7 separate regions of the Homo sapiens genome follow, and all the other regions are linked to region 1. The links are contacts of gene promoters, found by promoter capture Hi-C in blood cells and fetal thymus (Javierre and others, 2016). All regions are on one chromosome and are shown on one strand. Each heading gives the region's core, a stretch centred on a gene start or on the middle of the fragment in contact. The rest is flanking DNA. Distances are from core to core; before and after follow the strand shown. Region 1 holds the start of LINC-PINT (long intergenic non-protein coding RNA, p53 induced transcript). Region 2 overlaps PODXL (podocalyxin like). Region 3 overlaps MKLN1 (muskelin 1). Region 4 overlaps MKLN1 (muskelin 1). Region 5 overlaps MKLN1 (muskelin 1). Region 6 overlaps MKLN1 (muskelin 1). Region 7 overlaps MKLN1 (muskelin 1).

What was found. Contacts are between HindIII fragments. The CHiCAGO score rates a contact against its expected background, and 5 or more counts as called.
Region 2: a contact is called between a fragment that was not itself captured here and the fragment with the promoter of LINC-PINT in region 1, in 1 of 17 cell types (neutrophils). The highest score is 6.9, in neutrophils.
Region 3: a fragment that was not itself captured here is called in contact with the fragment with the promoter of LINC-PINT in region 1 in 3 of 17 cell types (neutrophils, endothelial precursors and megakaryocytes); the score reaches 8.6 in neutrophils.
Region 4: a fragment that was not itself captured here is called in contact with the fragment with the promoter of LINC-PINT in region 1 in 4 of 17 cell types (neutrophils, activated CD4 T cells, endothelial precursors and 1 more); the score reaches 14.3 in neutrophils.
Region 5: a fragment that was not itself captured here is called in contact with the fragment with the promoter of LINC-PINT in region 1 in 17 of 17 cell types (activated CD4 T cells, neutrophils, total B cells and 14 more); the score reaches 24.9 in activated CD4 T cells.
Region 6: a contact is called between a fragment that was not itself captured here and the fragment with the promoter of LINC-PINT in region 1, in 16 of 17 cell types (activated CD4 T cells, naive B cells, total B cells and 13 more). The highest score is 20.5, in activated CD4 T cells.
Region 7: a fragment that was not itself captured here is called in contact with the fragment with the promoter of LINC-PINT in region 1 in 17 of 17 cell types (naive B cells, neutrophils, total B cells and 14 more); the score reaches 28.3 in naive B cells.

Annotation. Positions count from the first base shown.
Region 1 is chr7:131,108,530-131,111,419 of GRCh38, reverse strand. It overlaps LINC-PINT (long intergenic non-protein coding RNA, p53 induced transcript), which reads left to right and starts at 1,495. Exons shown (of 8, transcript NR_170176.1): 1 at 1,495-1,683; 2 at 2,617-2,890. It also overlaps a transcript of MKLN1 not described here. RefSeq lists enhancers at 1-248, 2,643-2,890 and silencers at 1,140-1,289, 1,370-1,419. The HindIII fragment of the contact is 3,581 bases long and covers 1-2,771 here.
Region 2 is chr7:131,517,659-131,520,548 of GRCh38, reverse strand. The region is part of intron 1 of PODXL (podocalyxin like); the gene reads left to right. It also overlaps the pseudogene RPL31P36. Among named protein-coding and RNA genes, the nearest start is that of PODXL, 38 kb to the left of the region's middle. RefSeq lists an enhancer at 2,414-2,890. The HindIII fragment of the contact is 7,481 bases long and covers 1-2,890 here.
Region 3 is chr7:131,489,700-131,492,589 of GRCh38, reverse strand. It overlaps MKLN1 (muskelin 1), which reads right to left. Exons shown (of 18, transcript NM_013255.5): 18 at 1-2,890. Among named protein-coding and RNA genes, the nearest start is that of PODXL, 65 kb to the left of the region's middle. The HindIII fragment of the contact is 825 bases long and covers 1,027-1,851 here.
Region 4 is chr7:131,473,252-131,476,141 of GRCh38, reverse strand. The region is part of intron 16 of MKLN1 (muskelin 1); the gene reads right to left. Among named protein-coding and RNA genes, the nearest start is that of PODXL, 82 kb to the left of the region's middle. The HindIII fragment of the contact is 4,278 bases long and covers 1-2,890 here.
Region 5 is chr7:131,427,650-131,430,539 of GRCh38, reverse strand. MKLN1 (muskelin 1) reads right to left here. Exons shown (of 18, transcript NM_013255.5): 9 at 1,395-1,507. Among named protein-coding and RNA genes, the nearest start is that of MKLN1, 100 kb to the right of the region's middle. The HindIII fragment of the contact is 5,953 bases long and covers 1-2,890 here.
Region 6 is chr7:131,409,192-131,412,081 of GRCh38, reverse strand. It overlaps MKLN1 (muskelin 1), which reads right to left. Exons shown (of 18, transcript NM_013255.5): 7 at 699-776. Among named protein-coding and RNA genes, the nearest start is that of MKLN1, 83 kb to the right of the region's middle. RefSeq lists a silencer at 2,006-2,206. The HindIII fragment of the contact is 4,257 bases long and covers 1-2,890 here.
Region 7 is chr7:131,392,168-131,395,057 of GRCh38, reverse strand. The region is part of intron 4 of MKLN1 (muskelin 1); the gene reads right to left. Among named protein-coding and RNA genes, the nearest start is that of MKLN1, 66 kb to the right of the region's middle. The HindIII fragment of the contact is 3,174 bases long and covers 1-2,890 here.

The DNA.
Region 1 (2,890 bases), core at 246-2,745:
CTGGCAGTGACGCAAATACAGAAATCAAATTAGGAAAACAAGATATGTGGGTGTGAGGCAATCGATAATAATCCAGGATGCTACAACATAAGCAAGAATGCCTTTAACCCGATGCCATTCATTTTAATAACACCCTGAGCAGTTTGATTTCCACGGAACACGCTGGTGATTAGAGAGCAGCAGGAGCTTGGGTTCCCTAGCAACAGCATGTGCTTTTGAGACAGTCATTAGCCTTTCAGTTAATCCCATCAACCCCTTACCTCTAAATGTATGACTGACATAAAAAAAATGATGTTTTAGAAAGTGCTTTGAAATTTCCAGGAGTGCAATGGAAGGGAATAATCATAATTAAAAAGTTGTCTGGAGAACTACACTCCAGTGAAGGAAGTAATGTTCCTACGTGCCAAGCCTGTCCGTATATTTCCCTGCTCTCAGTTGTAGGTTTCTGAATCCCCTGTGGCAAAGGGCAAGGGAGGTGAAATTGTTCAGAGTTTCAGGCAGTCTTCTCACCTAAAGTGAGTAGTATTGCAATGTCTCTTGGAATCATGGCTCTGAAGATGAGGAGAGAAGCGGGATGGGCAGTTTGTGTGGTGAGGAGGCTGGCTGCAGGTAGGCTGGGAGGGAATGTCACACATAGTTTTCTTTCTCCTTTAAGCCGAATGAGGTATGCTGGTCAAAGGAACTTGGGGAAGGAGGATGGTGAGGGGAATGAAGTTCTTCTTCCTATTGATTGTTTTGTTGCACCAGAGGCTGTTTGTCCAAGGCCACTGGCCAAGAGCATTATTTTCGTGGCTAAAGTGAGGTTGGGCAGGTTTCCCATCCCTTTCACTAGTTTTGAACAAGACAACCCAGAAAGCGCAGCAAGGCTCTGGGAATATGATGTGGGTTGGCTTTTCCTACTCAGCTGCACCTTAAAGCGCCAGGCCGATGGGCTGATACTTCTCAAACCCTGAATCATTGCCTCCAGCTCTGTCCTGGGTTCAGGATGCACCACTCCACCCTCTGTGTAGCTTGGGGTCAACTTCGGGGCGTCACTCCAATAGTAATTATTGCTGCGTTTGGCTGGACATCCTTATTACGGCCTGGGTCCCTCTCAGCTGGAAACTGGGCTCCTTCAGTTTGGCTGGGGTGACTTCTAGCACTTCCCGCCGCCCCACCTTACCCCCCTGCGCGCTCCCTTCCCAAGGCGACCACCTGCACCGCCCCACTTACCATCTGCCCCGCGGGGAGGGCCCCCCGGGCTAGCGGAGCCCTCCCTGCTCCCGGGCGGCTCTGGAGGAGCTCGGTGTTTGCCTCTAGCCCTTCGCTACCGGAGGATCAGGTTCCTCCCCTCCTCCCCCTCCAGCTCCGGCCGCCGCCGCCGCCGCCGCCGCCTCCTTCTTGCATGACACAGCAGAACCGCAGCTGCTGCAGCAATTTCAAGCCATCCGCCCAGGAAGCGCCGCAACCGGGACTCGGGAGGGGTGGAGGGGGCGAGGCAGAGGCCGCGGCCCCAGGGGATCCTTGGCCCCACTGTGCACCACACACTCCTTTCCCAGCCCAGGGGCACGCGAACAAAATGAGGCTCAAGCTGACCAGGCCGAGCCGGAGGAACGCTGGGGCTTGGCAGCAGAAGGGATGGGACCAGAGAGAAGGGTGTGGAGGAGACCCCAGTGAGGGCCAGGACATTTCAGGTAAAGAGAGGTAAGAAGAGGCCCAGAAGTCAAGGGCCAGACTGTGAAGGTGATTAGAGGTCAAAAGAGGTAAGGAGGTAGAGTTGCAAAGAAGAGAGGCCGAGCTGGGAAGGGCGTGGGGGTGGGGGTAGCTGCAGGGGAGGGTGGGGGGTACAGTCTTTGGGGAGGCCCGAGCTGAGCCCCCAGGCAGAAAAGGGGCTGAGTTGGGAGGCAAGGGAGGTAGGAGGAAAGGGATGAAAAGAATTAGGCATGAGATAGGAAGGTAAAACTTGGGAGAGATATTATAGAATTAGAAGGGTTGGAATGGAGCTCATTCATCATGGCTGATGAAGTAAACTGATGAGGTGGAGAGAGACAGAGTCAAGGCAAGGCCAAACGAAAAGATCTTCCATCCCACTCTTCAGTTTCTTGCGAAGTTTTTCTTGATTCCGCCAATCCACACAGTTTCCTTTATAAAATGGAAAAGCATGAACTAAAAAACCCAGAAATAGCTATCTGGCTTAGATTTACAGGATAAAATCTCCATGTCTGTAAAAACTTTAAGGCAGAAATTTGGGATTTATGGTACAAACCCTTTAAGGGACTGTGAGTCAGTAATACCCACAGCACTCAACATTGTGAGTTTCCACACATCCCTGGACTTGAGTGAGTCTTTCCAAGTGTTTGTTAATGGTACAAATGATGACAAAATTAGTGGTTCAAAAATATTAAAGTGCACATGCTTTTTGCTTTCTCTATGTATACAGAGATTACATATATGTATACTTTCTAGCGTCTAGCAAGTATGGTATGGCTAGGGATAATTATGTTTTTCTGATTATTTTGTTTCCCATCAAACACCCCACGAATTTTACAGCAGACCGCCTTCTTGTCACCATTTGAAAGAATGTGGTCAGAAAAGTAATGCAAAAACTGCCACTTTGGTTTTGTCTGTACCTTCCAGGTCATATCTCCGTACCTCACTTCCTGACACAAACAAGTTTTCACTGTTGTCAGCAACAAAGCCCTAATATAGCTGCGGAAGAGAAAAACTGCATTGCATTTTGCCTCCTGCAAGCATCATCAACAGTTACTGGAGGAACGTAATTCCAGAAAGCTTGAAAGCCGTGGTGATGGTAATTATGTATCAAATGCCTGGTTCTATTTCTGTTATTATTGTTTTGTCATTTCTGTTTTCCCAGCGATCTGACTGAACTCGCAGAGGGACAAATCCAGTT
Region 2 (2,890 bases), core at 238-2,737, 410 kb before region 1:
GGTTTTATACCTTTATTTGACATATTCGACAGTCAGCAGTTATTTCTCATCCACACTGACTGTCTATAGATTTTTGAAAGTGATAACAGGCACGTGGGTAACCAAAGTATAGAGCTTGTTTGGTGAATCTTCATCCTCATTCTGTTTCCTGGACAACCGCACAGGGATAGGTATGGGACATTCTTTATTCCTTTGGCCCAGACAGCTTTGATGAGCCTGGTATCAATGCGCACATCTGGAGTTCCCATCTCTTTCATGGCAAATTTCTGGATCTCTGTGAGTGCCTGAGGGGCATGCTGCTTGAAGCCCACTCCAGGAAGCTCTTGGGATTGTTGATGGTGCATTCTCGGGTCACCACCTCGTTGATGGTAGAACGGCCTTTCTTCTCACCACCCTCTTCGCAGGAGCCATTTTACCGCACCCAAGTTGGAAAGGCTCAATTTCTTTATGATTATAGGATAAATGATTATTTCCGTTTTCCTTGAGTCACTCTGGTAAGTTTTTTTCTTTCCCAAGAAATTTGTGGCAGGGCACAGTGTCTCATATCTGTAGTCCCAGCACTTTGGGAGACTGAGGCAGATGGATCCCTTGAGCCCAGGAGTTTGAGTCCAGCCTGGGCAACATGGTGAAACCCTATCTCTACAAAAAATACAAAAATTTTAGCTGAGCGTGGTGGTACATGCCTGTAGTCCCAGCTACCCAGGAGGCTGAAGTAGGAGGATTGCTTGACCCCAGGAGATTGTAATGAGCCAAGATCACACTGTTGCATTCCAGCCTGTGGGACGGAGTGAGACTCTGTCTCAAAAAAATAAAAAAAAGAAAGAAATTTGTCTGTCTCGTCTGCTTCAGATTTATAAATATTTGCCCATAAGGTATTATGCTTTAAATAACTATTACTATTTTTGTACCTCACATTGTTTACTTATGCCTTTGGATTTTTTTTTTTCCCCTTTTGATCAACCTCTCCAAAGACTTTTTGGCACTTTATTAGCCTGTTTAAAAAAAACAATTTTTGATTTTGATATGTGCTATTGTATTTTGGTTTCTATTTCTTTGGTTGTTCTTTCATTCCTCCATTTTTTTCTTTAGGTTGTTTTGTGGCTTTCTATTGTTAGATTGAAGGTGGTAGATAGAGGACCAGGCCTGGGCTGGTCTTAAAGGAGGACAATGGAAATTGGAGCGCGGCTCACACCCTCAGAATGCCTGTTCCTACCCCCACCCATACCTAAAGGTCTCTAAGAGAATTAGTTACCCGAGATCAGCTGAATGAGGAGTGAAAAAACCAAGCCTGGTTTTATATGATTTGGGATAATATGCTAGTACCAGCCCAAACTGGACAGTGACAGGAGAAAAGCTCTATATCCTGAAGGGTGGCGTAGAAAGAAAATTCTCCCAGTGGCCAGGACTTTAAAGAATACATTTCCTGGTCTTTTGTTTTTGAAGGAAAGGTCCACTGAGGCGAGGCTCTGAACAGATTCATCAGCAGGAGCTAATCATTTTTAAAACAATGCTAGGGAACTCAGAAGGAACAGCAATGGAGAATCAGTGTGACCTGGAAGGTTAGGCAGGCCTGTGGAGGGACCCACAGGGATAGGTCTGGAGTGTGAGGATATTTGCCTGCGTCTAGAGAAAGGCTCTGGGTAATCAGATGGGCAAGATGACCCCTTCAGCATATCAGTTTTCTTCTCCATCGCCTAATGATGGCGCTGTGGATCTGTGACCAAGTGGCGTGGTGGAGGGCGGCCCGTTCTGGACCTGCGTGTGCCCTCCAGGCTGCCACGTTTCTGTCAGCGGCGCCGTTTCTGGACTTCCAGGATGCTTTATTCACCATCACAATTACCCCACAGACCATAGGCTTTACCAAGGAGCTCACTCTATGGCAGGATAAGTGGCCTGTTAAATTTTATCAGACTTAGCCTGAACCCTACATGGGGCTAAATAATGAAGCAGGAAGGAATATGGCTAGAACCCAGGGGATTCCCCATGGTGCCAGTCATAAAAGTAAATGGAAAGACCTCTTACGGACAGCATCCTTAAACACTCTCATCCCCAATAAAAGCCAGTATCCAATACTAATGTTGCCAGTGGTGCAAACTGATGCTCGATGATGGTAGAAGTGATGACCTCACCAGACCCGTTCAGGAGAAGAGGTCTTGAGCACTGTTTCTGACTTACGCTTGATTCTTTAGCCACCTCAAGTATTTTATTAGCCAACGCATTATCTTTTTAATACATTACTTTCTCTTTAAAGCAGACAGAGTTAATTTCGAATGTTTGAAAGACTCCTGGTATTTTCACGAGGATATAGGAGAGCAGATCAGGAGAGCGAATGGCATTCCCCCCGCAAAAAGACATGTTCAGGTCCTAATCTCTGGTACCTGGTACCTGTGCAGGTGACCCTACTTAGAAATAGGGTCTTTGCAGATGTAATCAAGTTAAGATGAAGTCATACTGGATTAGGGAGGGCTCTAAATCCAATGACTGGTATCCTTATAAGAGGAGAGATATACGGCCGGCCCCGATGGCTCACACCTGTAATCCCAGCACTTCAGGAGGCTGAGCAGGGTGGATCGCCTGAGGTCAGGAGTTCGAGACCAGCCTGGCCAACATGGTGAAACCACATCTCCGTTAAAAATACAAAAATTAGCCTGGTGTAGTGGTGTGTACCTGTGGTCCCAGGTACTTGGGAGGCTGAGGCAGGAGAATTGCTTGAACCCACAAAGCGGAGGTTGCAGTGAGTGGAGATTGCGCCATTGTACTCCAGCCTGGGTGACAGAGACTCTGTGTCAAAAAAAAAAAAGAGTTACGCAAGGAGGAAGGTCTTGTGTTGATGGAGCCAGAGATCACAGTGACACAGCTACAAGCCAAGGAGTAGCCAGGATTGCTGGTA
Region 3 (2,890 bases), core at 190-2,689, 380 kb before region 1:
TAAAAAACAAAAATATTTTAAGTAGAGATGGAGTCTTCCTGTGTTGCCCAGGCTGGTCTGAAATTCCTGGGCTCAAGCAATCTTCCCGTGTCAGCCTCCCAAAGGTCTGGGATTACAGGCGTGAGTCACTATGCCCAGCCTAAATTCACATTCTTGAGGGGAAGAGACATATATAAGGCTGCATTATTTTTATTTAAGGAAAAAAAAAGAAAAAGAAAAGCAATCATTTCATGGCAACTGAAGCCACTTCTAATATTCAACTATTTCAGAAGTTTAAAGTCAATTCTTAACACAAATTCTAACTTCAGCAGAAATCAATGTTACTCATGGGAGGTAGGAATAGAAACAAAAAGGTTAAAAAATACAATAAAAAGAAAAGACAAAAGGTAAATGGAAATTCTGATGATATGCTGAATTCAGGAACTCTGCTATCAAACCTGTACTTTACCAATAGTTCTATGACAAGAGATCCTAATGCCAGAAAAAGAGGCCAACACAGGTTTCTCCATTAAAGCTGCCACAGCCATTATTACTATCCCCAAATGAAAATGACTCAAGTACATTTATAGCAATATCTGAATGTTATTAATTTCTTATGAATTTCATTATTCTCTTGTCATAAATAAGGATAATAGAGCATTTGCCCCAGAATGATTTTGATCTTTTTTTTTCCAAGCAATACAATGTCCTACAGAATGCCACAGAAAATCTAGGAAGTCTAGGGCTAAAAAAAAGTGAAGAATAAAGTTACATTAGCTAAGAAAAATAAATGGAAAAACAATTCACAGTATTTGGTGGATAGAAGGAAACCAAAGTTTTAAAAATCATATATAAATAGAACCTCTAATACAGCATTTATTCAGAAAAAGAAAAAGCATTTGGTGAAGAGATCAATATACTGCAGTAATGAGTCCTCACCCAAAACAAATGAGGGCAACATCATTCACGTAAGCTAGTCAGCTTCGTATTATTTCAACAAACTTGGAAATGTCTGCCTTCAACCAACAGACCTCTAGACTAGAAGCTTTGGATAGCCAAGTCATTTCAGCATTAAAACAAATCACAGGGAGATAGAAGCCAGGGTCTAGAACCACAAAAGAATAGCGTTATTTGACTAATAAGGATAACAAAAATCTTTTGTGTTAAAGCATCCAAAGACCTAATCTGTAAGTACTATCATATGTAGACACTGTATGATACTCCTCCAGCCATAAACTTTTTCTGGGCAGCCTTCACATCCTAGATCGGGGCTACCTTAGGAATTCAAAACTTGGTGAGAATTCAGGCAAGAATTTCTACAAAGGGATGAGATTGTGGATGAATGTGGAATTTTAAGAAAAGAAGGGTTAGGAAGGGTGTTTTTTTTTTAATAGTTAGATGACTTTATTTAGAATATACATTGCAATGATTCCCTCCCACAGAAATCACTTCAAACCGTAATTCTCAAATACTGTGCAACATTCAACCAGCTAAGGATTTCACGTGACTTTCAGGAAATAAATGACCCACAATTACCCAGTGAATTCCATGTAGTGTTAAGAATAATTGCAGGTAACTTCTTCATGTAATTACCATGAAATTGAGTATAATTTAGAGAATAAAATCAGGAACATACTCCTAATTGCTTTTTTGATCCATTAAGCATCATTCTCAATCTCTCACTAAATGCTTGGGTGCCTCAAACTAGTTTTTGTTTATAGGCTAGATTTTAAAACACTGTTTTATTATAACTCTGTTAATGTATCTCTACATAGCACTTTTAAGGCAGATGTGAAGAGATCAACTGGAATAAGCTGCCAACCATTTATATACAATATAAATATTTTGCCCAAGAATGCAGTTTTACAAGCTTAAATCACTGAGCTCTAAACCCATCAAACTTTTCTATGATAAACCAGTGACTTTTTAATGTATTCTATCAGTTTTTACTTATTAGACATGGACAGGTCTGTTTTCATATAAATGAAAATCAGGTCTAAAAGATGGCCTTGATAAGAGTTAATACTGTCTGTCAGCTTCAGCACAGAGGTAGGCATTTAAGTCTGAATTCCTTTGCTTGAATAAGAGTGATACATTCTTCAATCAATCAAACTGGCCACATGAGGTCTCTGCCATTACCAAAATAAAATGCAAATGCACTTAAGAGGTGTCTTGAAAATCAGATTATTTCTCATGAAGTACAAGCACTGAAAATAATGTTGGATATCTACTTTAATTTCTGGTTGAAAACAATGTATTATACTAGGAAAAAGGATAAATGAGGTTGAAGCTGGAGATAATACAAATGAGAAAACTGTATCCCACTTAATTTATGTGTCTAAAGTGTTAGCCAGGTGTTTCAATTAGGGATTCACCTAGGCTAGAATAATTGTTAGGTAGTAAAGCATATACACTTGGCTATATAAACAATGTACCTAAATACCAAATTCGATTATTTAAATTATAATCTATGCTGGAATTCTTGGAAATACATGTAGCTCCTCACTAAATTGTGACATGTTGTGAGCAACATGTCAATCTTGGTCATGGATATATGAAGCACTACATTCTCTGCAATCATTTCCAGCAGTGCTCCGATTAAAGCCCCACAGTACAGAGTCTGACTTTTCAATTATCTCCTCAGTACATCTATCTCACTTTGGCAAGAGCAAATGGCTCGCTATGATTCAACCCCATTTAAACATGGCGGTGAGCAAAAAATTTCAGAAATGAAGGGGGAAAAATTCTACCTAAATAAAGTGAGGGAAGATGAAATTAAAACAAACATGTTTTCCAAAAAGACTAGTAGGGAAACATTTAGGGAAAAACAAAAATAAAATTACTGAGGTCAAGAACTTAGTTTCCTCCAAATAACATTTAAGGAACTGATGAAAAAAATTACAAAGCACTG
Region 4 (2,890 bases), core at 222-2,721, 360 kb before region 1:
TTTTTATTCCTAGTTTGCTAAGAATTTTTATTATGAATGAGTCTGAATTTTCTTAGATGCTTTTCTTCACTTACTAAGATGATCTATGGTTTTCCTCCTTCATTCTGTTAACATGGTGAATTACACTGAATTTTTTTTCAAATGTTAAACTAGCCATATATTCCTAGAATAAACCACCACTTAGTCATAGTACACTAACCTTTTAATATATTCCTAATTAACTAAAATTTTCCTAAGAATTTTACATTTATGTTCATGAAAAATATTGGTCCATGATTTTCTTTGCTTGTAACGTCTCTCTTGGGATTTTATTTTATTCTAATTTATTCTGAGATAGGATCCCACTCTGTCACCAAGGTTCAGCGTGCAGTGGTATGATCACAGCTCACTGCAGCCTCAACCTCTCTGAACTCAGGTGATCCTCCCACCTCAGCCTCCAGAGGAGCTGGGACTACAGGCATGGCACCACCCAGCTAATTTTTTGCATGTTTTTGTAGAGACAGGTTTTTGCTATGTTGCCCAAGCTGGTCTCAAACTCATGGGCTCAGGCGATCCACCCCTCAGCCTCCCAAAATGCTGTGATTACAAGCGTGAGCCACCACGCCCAGCTTCTGTTGGGATTTTATATCAAAGTTAACCTGGCTTATAAAAGGATTTAAGAAGTATTGCCTTCCTCTAATTTCTGAGAGTCTATGTAAAATTGTATTTTTTTCTTCCTTCTTTGAATGGTTGATAAAATTTACTGCTATTATGGGCCTAGAGTTTTTTTTGTTAGAAAATTTTTTATTACAAATTCAATCTCTGTAGTAGATATGGAGTTCCTTAAGATTTTCTATTTCTTCTTGTGTCAGTTTTGGTAAACTGTGTCTTTTAAAGTATTTGTCAATTTCATCAAGTTGCGGCTTGTCAATGAAGTTTTCCATACCCACTTTACTTTTAATATATGTAGGGTCTAAACTGATGCCCTCTTTTCATTTGTGATGTGGATAATTTATGTTTTCACTTTTTTTCTTGGTGATATAGTTTGGATTTGCATCCTTGCCCAAATCTCATGTTGAATTGGGGGAGGGGTTTGGTGGGGGACCATTGGATCACAGGGGCCAATTTCCCCCTTGCTGTTCTTGTGATAGTGAGTTCTCATGAGATCTGATGGTTTAAACATGTGTGGCATTTCCCCCCTCATTGTCACTCTCTCTCCTGCCATCATGTGAAAAAGGTGCTTGCTTGCCCTTCACCTTCTGCCATGACTGTAAGTTTACTGAGGACTCCCAGTCATGCTTCCTGTTAAGCCTGTGGGCCTGTGAGTCAATTAAATCTCTTTTCTTCATAAATTACCCAGTCTCAGGTAGTTCTTTACAACAGTGTGAGAACAGGCTAATACACTTGGTAAGTCTTGCTTGGGGTTTATCAATTTATTTACCTTTTCAAAAGGCCAACTTTTCACTTTTAAAATTTCTCCATTGTTTGTTTCCTATTTCATGAATTTCTTATTTCCTACTTATTTGGGGTTGAATTTGTTCCTCTTTTCTAACTCCTAAGGTGAAAAATAAATTGTATTGGCTCTACATATAGGATAAGGAGAAAACTATTATCTTAACAATCTGATTAAATAAGTGAACTGTATGTACTGGCCTAAGGATTTTAACACATACCAAGGGATATTACAGACCTCTTTCCCAAACTCTGGATTCAAATATCCAACAGTCACCTCAACATCTTAAGTTGGCTGTCTCATAGATATCTCAAACTGAACATTTCCAAATTTAAACTCCTGAATGCCAGTCAGGAGTCCCCACAAACCAGTTCCCCACAGAACTTTCTCACTTCAGTTGATAGTAACTCCATCCTTCCAGTTTTTCAGGCCAAAACCTTTGAGTCGTTTCTTTCAAACACTAGATCTAATCTATCATAAAATTCTGTTGGTTCTATCTTTAAAATATATTAAGAATCTGCTCTATTTTACTTCTCACTGCTCTACTATTACTTTGGGCTGAGCTACAGTAACTCCTTGTTGCCCAGGCTGGAGTGCTGTGGCACAATCTCAGCTCACTGCAACCTCCACCTCCCGGGTTCAAGAGATTCTCCTGCCTCAACCTCCCGATCAGCTGGGATTACAGGCGCCTCCCACCATGCCCGGCCAATTTTTTGTATTTTTAGTAGAGACGGAGTTTTACCATGTTGGCCAGGCTGGTCTTGAACTCCTGACCTCAGGTGATCCACCCACCTCAGCCTCCTGAAGTGCGGGGATTACAGGCGTGAACCACTGTGCCCGGCCCAGTACTTATTCAATTCTAATGTACTATATAATTTGCTTCTTTAATGTTTATTGTCTTTCTCCACTAAAATGTAAGTACCTCCTGGGCAGGGATCTTGTTGGGTTTGCTGATACAGCTCCTCTGCCTAGAATGCCTGACCTATTATGGGGAATCGATACACAACTGTTAAATGAATGACACCAGCACTCTGGAAACTCCGCAGAAGTGTAATGAATATAAAATGTGTTATTGTAGCTGAAAACTTATTCTCATTCCTTCTCTATTATAGAAGTCTTCTCTGAAAGTGGTATAATTGATTAGGCATCCTTTTCTCATGGCTTTTCTAGAAAAAAATATCATTTTTTATAAGATTTATTGTAAGTTCATCACCAATTCAGAACCCATGTTCTGAAGACTGGAGGAAGCCAATAACATTTTTTTGTTATATAGTTGATAGTCAGCTGTCAATGTCCTGACAACAGGCACAATGATGATGATCATAACAACTGTGAAAAAAAAAATCTAAAAAACACTTTTTGTGTTTTGAGACTTAAATGAGAAAGTCATTTAATAACATTAAATGTCTGTAAAACATATAAACAGAACAAAAACAAGTTACTATAGAAAATGAAGAA
Region 5 (2,890 bases), core at 249-2,748, 320 kb before region 1:
GCTTAACACAAGAATAATTACAGATGTCATCGCCTTAGATTTACAATACTTTAGTAGAAAAAAGTTAGTTTTTTTTTTAATTTAAGATTTGTCTTTTGTTGTTGAAGACAGAAATAATCATTTCAGAGAACAGTACTTCAATACTGAAACAGGAAGGCCACTTACACATACTTTCCCGGGGTAAGAAAAGTAAATCAGAATTTCAACATCTATTTGAAAAAATAAAAACTGTCCAGTGATTAATCCCTGGACAGTTTTTATTAACATAATTTCAGAGTAAGCAAGAACCTAGTTCCCCAGGATTAACGACACAGCACTAGATCTTTGGAAATGGCCTTCCTAGATCAAAATCAGTGGGTTATGAATTAGGCCGTTTTATCTCCTTTTCATTTGAGGCTCCTACTGTTTTGTTATAGCTCATTTGTCACTTTATATCCTGAAACAGTTTAAATGGAGAGTGCAATTAAAATGTTCTATAAAGATTTGAAAAAATAATAAATGAATTAACATTTACTTTATTCCAGGATATAATCATGCACTTAATTCAAAGCCATAAACCTAAGCCATCTTATTCACTATGGAAATGCTTTATGTATATGTGCATACACAGATCTGTACATGCATACATATATACAATTTTTATTAAAGATAATATGTATCAGCCAGGCGCAGTGGCTCACGCCTATAATCCCAGTACTTTGGGAGGCCGAGGCGGGTGGATCACGAGGTCAGGAGATCGAGACCATCCTGGTTAACATGGTGAAACCCCGTCTCTACTAAAATACAAAAAAAAATTCGCTGGGCGTGGTGGCGGACGCCTGTAGTCCCAGCTACTTGGGAGGCTGAGGCAGGAGAATGGCATGAACCTGGGAGGCGGAGCTTGCAGTGAGTCGAGATGGTGCCACTGCACTCCAGCCTGGGCGATAGAGCAAGACTCCAAAAAAAAGATAATATATATCATTTATGAAAACTGACATATAGTAAAATAACAGGAGCCAAAATAGGGAGATAGTGAGTGTCAAAAACACAATATTCCAGAAGAAATAAAAATAAGATGAATGTTAAAAATAAGAATAGAGGTAGTGGAGACATAAGCAAAAAAGACAGTTACACAGTTACATTTCTAGGCTAAAGCAGTTTAAAAACAAAATGATATAAAAATCCCCATTCCTCACTCTCTCTCTCTCTATAAAACAGATTTGGTTGTGTATCAGTAGCTGAACAGCCAGTTATAGAAGCTGAAATTCAAGAGTACTTAAAAAAAACTTGTTTACCACAAATTCTATTGCTACTACTGCTGACAGACATTAGTGAAGAATATAATCATGCCGAAAAACAAGTGCACATCTACGCCCCTTCTGTAATATAGATGTATGAAAAGTCTGAGAACTTGCCTCTTTTTCAGTGTCTCTAGAGATACATGTCCACTGGTTCTCCTTCACACTGTACGCCCAGAAGTCAGCAAGATCTTGTGTTCCATCCCAGCCACCAAACAAATAAACAGTCTCTATGAAAATCAGAAAAATATGTGTAAAAAAAAAAGGACAAAATAAGCATAAGCACCCAAACCTAGCCAGCTGTTTCTAAGGCCACTTAAGAAGCTACATCTAAATAAATTTTAAAATAAAAATTTTAACCTGGTAACTTTCTCAAATATATACTAGACTAATATTTCCTAGGCATGAATATATGAAAAGGATGCTGCAGAACCATTATTTTGAGAGATTTATAAAAATACAGATAACTAGGAGGCATGTCCCAAGATTCTGATTCCACAGGTTTTCAATGGGTAAAAATGGGTCTGTATTTGTAAAGTATCCCAGAAAAATTTAACGTGCAGCTGGTTTGGAGTTTCTGTGTTTGGCCTTGAAAACTTTACATTTACCAGCTTTTTAATAATGCAGCCACTTTTTATCCACTATGGAATTTTTTAATTCAGATTCTAAAAAATAAAACCCCCAGAGGAATATATAGTGTAAAAGTACAGCATAAGAACATTTAGCTGTTTTTGAAAAAAGTCATATTAAAGGCAATTTCTCTCTATTGCTATATCAAAAACAATGGTTAAAACTAGCTTTAAGTTAAAATTAGATATCTTAAGAAAAAGTGATCCACAGCTTTGATATTCCTATAAAAACTGGGAGAAATTTTTCCAGATATATTGTGGTACATTTAACTCATCAGAAATTATCCTTTAAGTCATTCTAAGTATCTTGAGAATTTGGTTTCTTCTGACTCTGAAATGTCTATTATATTCACAGACTTTACCGCTGACAAAACTGATTTTCTTCTTCAGTGAATAATGAATCTTTACATATAACATTGTGTATCATAGATCCTTCTTTATTTTTATTATTTATTTATTTATTTATTTTGAGACACGGTCTCTCTCTGTTGCCCATGCTGGAGTGCAGTGGTGCAATCATGGCTCACTGCAGCCTCCTGGGTTCAAGCAATCCCTCCACCCCAGCCTCTCGAGTAGCTGGGACTACAATAATGTGCCACCATGCCCAGCTAACTTTTTTTGGGGGGGTGGGGGTTACAGACAGGGGCTCACTATGTTGTCCAGGATGGTATTGAACTCCTGGCCTCAAGCAATCCTCCCACCTCAGCCTCCCAAAGTACCAGGATTATAGGCATGAGCCACCCCATTCAGCCCCTTCTTCATGCAATAATAGGCGTTTCCAATTTGGCACAGTGGCTCATGCCTGTAATCCCAGCACTTTGAGGGGCTGAGGCAGGTGGATCACAAGGTCAGGTGTTTGAGACCAGCCTGGCCAACATAGTGAAACTCCGTCTCTACTAAAAATACAAAAAAATTAGGCAGGTGTGGTGACGGGCACCTGTAATCCCAACTATTCGGGAGGCTGAGGCAGGAGAATCACTTGAA
Region 6 (2,890 bases), core at 115-2,614, 300 kb before region 1:
AGAGTCTCGCTCTGTTGCCCAGGTTGAAGTGCAGTGGTATGAACACGGCTGACTGCAGCCTTGACCTCCCAGGCTCAAGCCACCCTTCTACCTCAGTACCCTAAGCAGCTGGGACCACAGATGCCTGCCAACATGTCTGGCTAATTTTTTTTTTTTTTTTTTTTTTTTTTTTTTTGAGATGGAATCTCCATCTGTCTCCCAGGCCGGAGTACAATAGCATGATCTCAGCTCACTGCAACCTCTGCCTCACAGGTTCAAGTGATTCTCCTACCCCAGCCTCCCGAGTAGCTGGGATTACAGGCACACACCATCACGCCCAGCTAATTTTTGTATTTTTAGTAGAGACAGGGTTTTGCCATGTTGGGCAGGCTGGTCTTCAACTACTAACCTCAGGTGATCTGCCCACCTTGGCCTCCCACAGTGTTGGGATTATAGGTGTGAGCCACCACACTCGGCTGTATAGCTAATTTTTTGTAGAGACAGGTCTCACCATGTTGCCCAGGCTGATCTTGAACCTCTGGGCTCAAGCAATCCTCCTGCCTCGGCCTCCAAAAGTATTGGGATTAGACATGAGCCACTGCAACTGGCCAACATCTTCTTTTTTATTAACTTAGTACTATGATACTTGAACTACCTTGGGAAAACTGAAGACTGAGACATTAATGAAAAAGAACTACAATCTAGAAGGTATGGCTTACCTTTGGTACTTTTGGGAATGATTTGACTCCATCGTGGCTTATATTCCTGTTGACTGATATACTGATTGAACAAGCCATCTGCAAATATTGAAGAATGAGAAAGAATTACACCTTAACTACTTACATTATTTATTATAGAAAAAAATTAAAATTTAAAAGGCTACATTAAAAGAAATTACTAATATGTCACTAATACAAAAGCACATTTTCATAAAATATGCATCACTTCAATTTCACTTCATGCTACCTCAAATATAAATAGTAAAATATTAATTGACACAACCATGCAAACAAATTGCTTTAGGGGAAGCTCATATTAAACGTACTATGTTTCTCATCATCACTGTATGTATTAGATACAAAGTCACTGTTGCATTCAACGGACACGTATGTGACATTATCAGAGGGTTAGAGACCTTGAAAGAAGGAAAAGGGAGTGAACTGGGAGGGGAAAAAAAGTCATAAGACAATTTAAGGCTGCAAAATAGAAGCAGGAGAAAATAAAAATAAATAATCTGAATAAATGTTCTACTTCATTGAAAAAAGATCTTATATATCTTTAAAAAATCATTTCTATCATTATCATAAATATAATTAAGAAGAGGAAAGGATAACTAAAGATTAGGAGAATTATATTTTCTTTTTGTGATCTCCCACCACTTGTCTTTATTTCAACTATGAAATTCTTAATCTTTACATCCTATAATGACATGGATTCATTGGATCCTAATCTCTTTCCCCCAACAGTGCTTTGTGCCAGTACTTTTTGCCACCCATATCCAAGAGAACTAGAGAAGAAAATAGAGCTCCAATAATTTTGGTCTAGGTCCTTGATACATTTTCAGGAAAAGGGAACACTAACTTTAACATGTGAATTCCATTATTATACAGTTTTGAGTACAAAACTACATAAAGATAAAAGTACTAACAGCAGTAATAAAACTATACTTATGGAACACTTACCAAATGTTAGAATTTATGCTGTCTCATCTCATTTAATTCTAAAAACAATCCTATGAACTACACATTATCATCTCCGTTTTATAAATCCAGAAATTTGTATTTAAAAAAAGTAAGAAACTTAACCAAAATCACACAGCTCTTAAATGGTGGGGCTGGTACTAAAGTTCTACCATGTTTTCCTTACTCCTGATTCTGCTGTATTGATAAACTCATAATCTACTTAAGTTGTTACACTAGTTACTGTAATGGTATGGAGACTGAACTCCCTACATACATCCCCCCACATACACACCTAAATAATTATGAAGCCCTACTCCCATGGCCCTCAACAAAGATTAGTTTAAGAACAGTATGGAACCCAATTTTGGCTAATGAAACATGAGGAATCTTCTGGGAGACTTCTAGGCAATTTTTCCTTACTTCTAAAGAGACATACAGAAAAAAAAATCTACTTTTATTCCTCTGGAATATCTGCATGTAATGTATACAAATATTAAAGCAAATTTGTCGAAGTACAAGAATGCAGTCAATTCTATAATGATGATACAGCACAGAGAAAGAAAGAAATGATCACTGAATCAACCAACCATGAAATCTGCCTTACCTCTGGACTTCTTGCTATGTGCTACAATAACATTTCCTTACTTTTTAAGCTAGAAACCCTAGCTTTTACATGCACCCAAATAGATCATAATTTATAAAGTTACTTTTACTATTAAACTCTGTCATGTGACTCAATTTAAAAGTAAAACTGTTTTCTGCGATTTATATATTCACCAGAGACCAACCAATTTAGAGCACTCCCCCTAATCTTTCTTTTCTGGGTAATTATGAAGCTCAGTTGTAACCAACCCTTTCGCTTTCAAGACTTTTCAGCTGGCTTTAACTGGAAACCTCCATCCTACAGGCACGCTCACCAAATTTCCTTTCTTCTTTGCCTTTGAGACTTTTCAAAATTCTTGCAAAAAGTCAGTAAATACTGCAAATACTAAAGCAGGGTAAAGGTTAAAAAAATGCATTGCTTTTACTACCTTGTTTTAATGTAAAAGAACTTCCTGCAACTTTCGCAACCTAAAAACAAAGAGTTGACACCTCTGCATCCCAAATAATCTCCATGCTCCCTATTATTTCTAATTCTTGCAAACGCTTGCTAATAAGGCCTTTTGCCTTGGTAGGCTTGCTTTAGATATATAATTCAGCAAAAGTCAGCCTCTCTATTGAAACAATGA
Region 7 (2,890 bases), core at 275-2,774, 280 kb before region 1:
AACACTTAGATTTTTTTAAATGAGATTAGATGTGATATTAATAAATGTGATTTTTAAAATATTACATAATGAAGTGTTTCAACATTTGGGAGATCTGTGTAATTCAGTGAACCATATTTTCTAAATAACCAATGAATGTTACAAAATCACACCTGGGTAAAAAGTCCAAGACAGACCACTGGGTAAAAAGTCCAAGATAGACCAGTGAATTTTAATGTAACAACAGATTCACTGATGCAGTTTCAGAATCAATAATGCAACTATCTTTAAGAAACTAACATTTGTAGAGTTTTGATGAAGCATCAAAATAGAATATCCAGAATAGCTGATACCAGGCGTAATGATTTCCAATATCCGACTGAATAAGGAAAATGTATGGGGTATGATACTTTTATATATTTTTGTCATCTAAAACAGGGGTCCCAAACCCCCAGGCCCAAACCTGTACAGGTCCCTGGCCTGTTAGGAACCCAGACGCATGGCAGGAGGTGCGCAGTGTGTTAAGGGAGCATTACTGCCTGGGCTCTGCCTCCTGTCAGATCAGCGTTGGCATTAGATTCTCAAAGGACTGCAAACTCTATCATGAACTGCAAATACAAGGGATCTAAGTTGTGCACTCCTTATGAGAATCTAATGCTTGATGATCTGAGATGGAAAAGTTTCATCCCAAAACCATCTCTCCACCATACCCTGCCCCAACTTCTGGGTCCACAGAAAAACTGTCTTCCACAAAACTGGTCGCTGGTGTCAAAAAGGTTGGGGACCACTGATATAAAGGAAGCTGTGTGAATAAAAACACAGGCAGTAGCAACCAGCCATAAGGATGTATGAAGGAATGCTGGGATATTTAATATGCCTTTCTGTTTATGTATGTAAACAACACACATTTCAAAAAGTTTTTTTTTAACAACAAATATTAAATTATCTTTATTGTTTTAGTGTTTCTTTATGTAGCAGTGTCATTTAAAAGTTTATCTACTAAATCACATAGCAATAACCATCTAGTAGTATAAGAGTCAGAATAAAATAATGATTCTAAACTAAAAGCACCAAGAATATAGTCTATATATGTCACCAGACATAAAATATTAGAGATTTCCAGGTCCAAGTCTCATTAAGAATTCATTTATTGGTCCTGGTGCAGTGGCTCATGTCTGTAATCCCAACACTTTGGGAGGCAGAAGCAAGAGGATCATTTGAGCCCAGGAGTTCAAGACCAGCCTGGAAATATAGTGAGACCCTATCTCTACAAAAAAAAATTAAAAATCAGCTGGGCATGATAGTATGTGCCTGTAGTCCTGGCTACTTGGGAGGCCAGATGAAGGATCACTTGAGCCCAGGAGTTCAGTGTTACAGTGAGCTATGACCACACTACTAAATTCTAGCCTAGGTAACCGAGAAAGACCCTGTCTCTTAAAAAACAAAACAAAACAAAACAAAACAAAAACCTTTTAAAACACTTGCAGTGAAATTTAATCTGTTACCCAATGGTCCAATAGAAATATTTCTAGAATAAAATTAGTTATAATTTTTAATACCTTTAAAGAATACCTTTAGAGGAAGGAGGTAAATCATGAAGTTATCTTGCCAATGGGCATATATATTACAGATGAATAAACAATATAATTAATTTTCAACAGACTAAAAGGGTATGTAAAAAATGAGCAGAATGATGTCCACTCACTTCAAACGCCAGTGATTTTTGGTAGCATTAACAATACTAATAATGCATATTAGAACACTAAGAAATCTAAAAGTGAATTAAAGCTCCAGGCACGTGTTCTTTGTTCCCTGATAAAAGATGCCTCCCTCATCAAATAAAAGAATTAGAAACTCCTAATACATATCCCAAGGCTAGCAGTTTGTATTCTAGGATTCAGTCATCAGTTTTCCCCATTGGACAATCAGACATGAATATAATCAACATCCCTGTGTCACCTTTTTTCATAAAATGGCCAGCCTGGGCAAGACAGCAAGACTCAGTTTCTACAAAAAAATTGTTTTTAAAATTAGCCAGGTGTGGTGGTGTGCTACTAGGGAGGCTGAGGCCGGAACATGGCTTGAGCCCAGGAACTGGAGGTTGCACTGAGCTCTAATTGTGCCACCTGAGCAACAGAGCAAGACTCTGCCTCTTAAAAAAAAAAAAAAAATTAGGCCAGGCGCAGTGGCTCACGCCTGTAATCCCAGCACTTTGGGAGGCCAAGGCGGGTGGATCGCCTCAGGTCGGGAGTTCAAGACCAGTCTGACCAACATGGAGAAACCCCGTCTCTACTAAAAATACAAAATTAGCCGGGCATGGTGGCGCATGCCTGTAATCACGGCTACTTAGGAGGCTGAGGCAGGAGAATCGCTTGAACCCAGGAGGCAGGAAGTTGTGGTGAGCCGAGATTGTGCCATTGCACTCCAGCCTAGGCAACAAGAGTGAAACTCCACCTCCCAAAAAAAAAAAAAAAAAGAGGTTCTGAGAGATCCTAAAAATTCAAGATTAACTATTCTGAAAGAGTGCATCTACTATTCTACTACAGATTTAATGACATAAGTATACTTAGCACAGTAACTGGCACATACTAAGTGTTCAATAAATGTTAGCTGTTATTATCTATTATTATTATATTAATTTTCCTCTTAATAGTATACTTCTAAAATGTCACTTTTCCACATGCTCTCCTAAAGGGCTTCCTGGAACTAATACCCAGACTTCATGCTCAGATTTCATGCTGCATCCAGCCAGAGTTAAAGCCGCTCTCTGAAGTCTCCACAATCATCCAGGCTGCAGCTGACTCCTTTACAAAAATCCACATCTCTCCATTTACCAAAAACCAAGACTCCCCCTGAATCCTTCCAAGACCCTGTACCTCTTTTTGCCCTCACCTACCCCTGATTTCCTCAT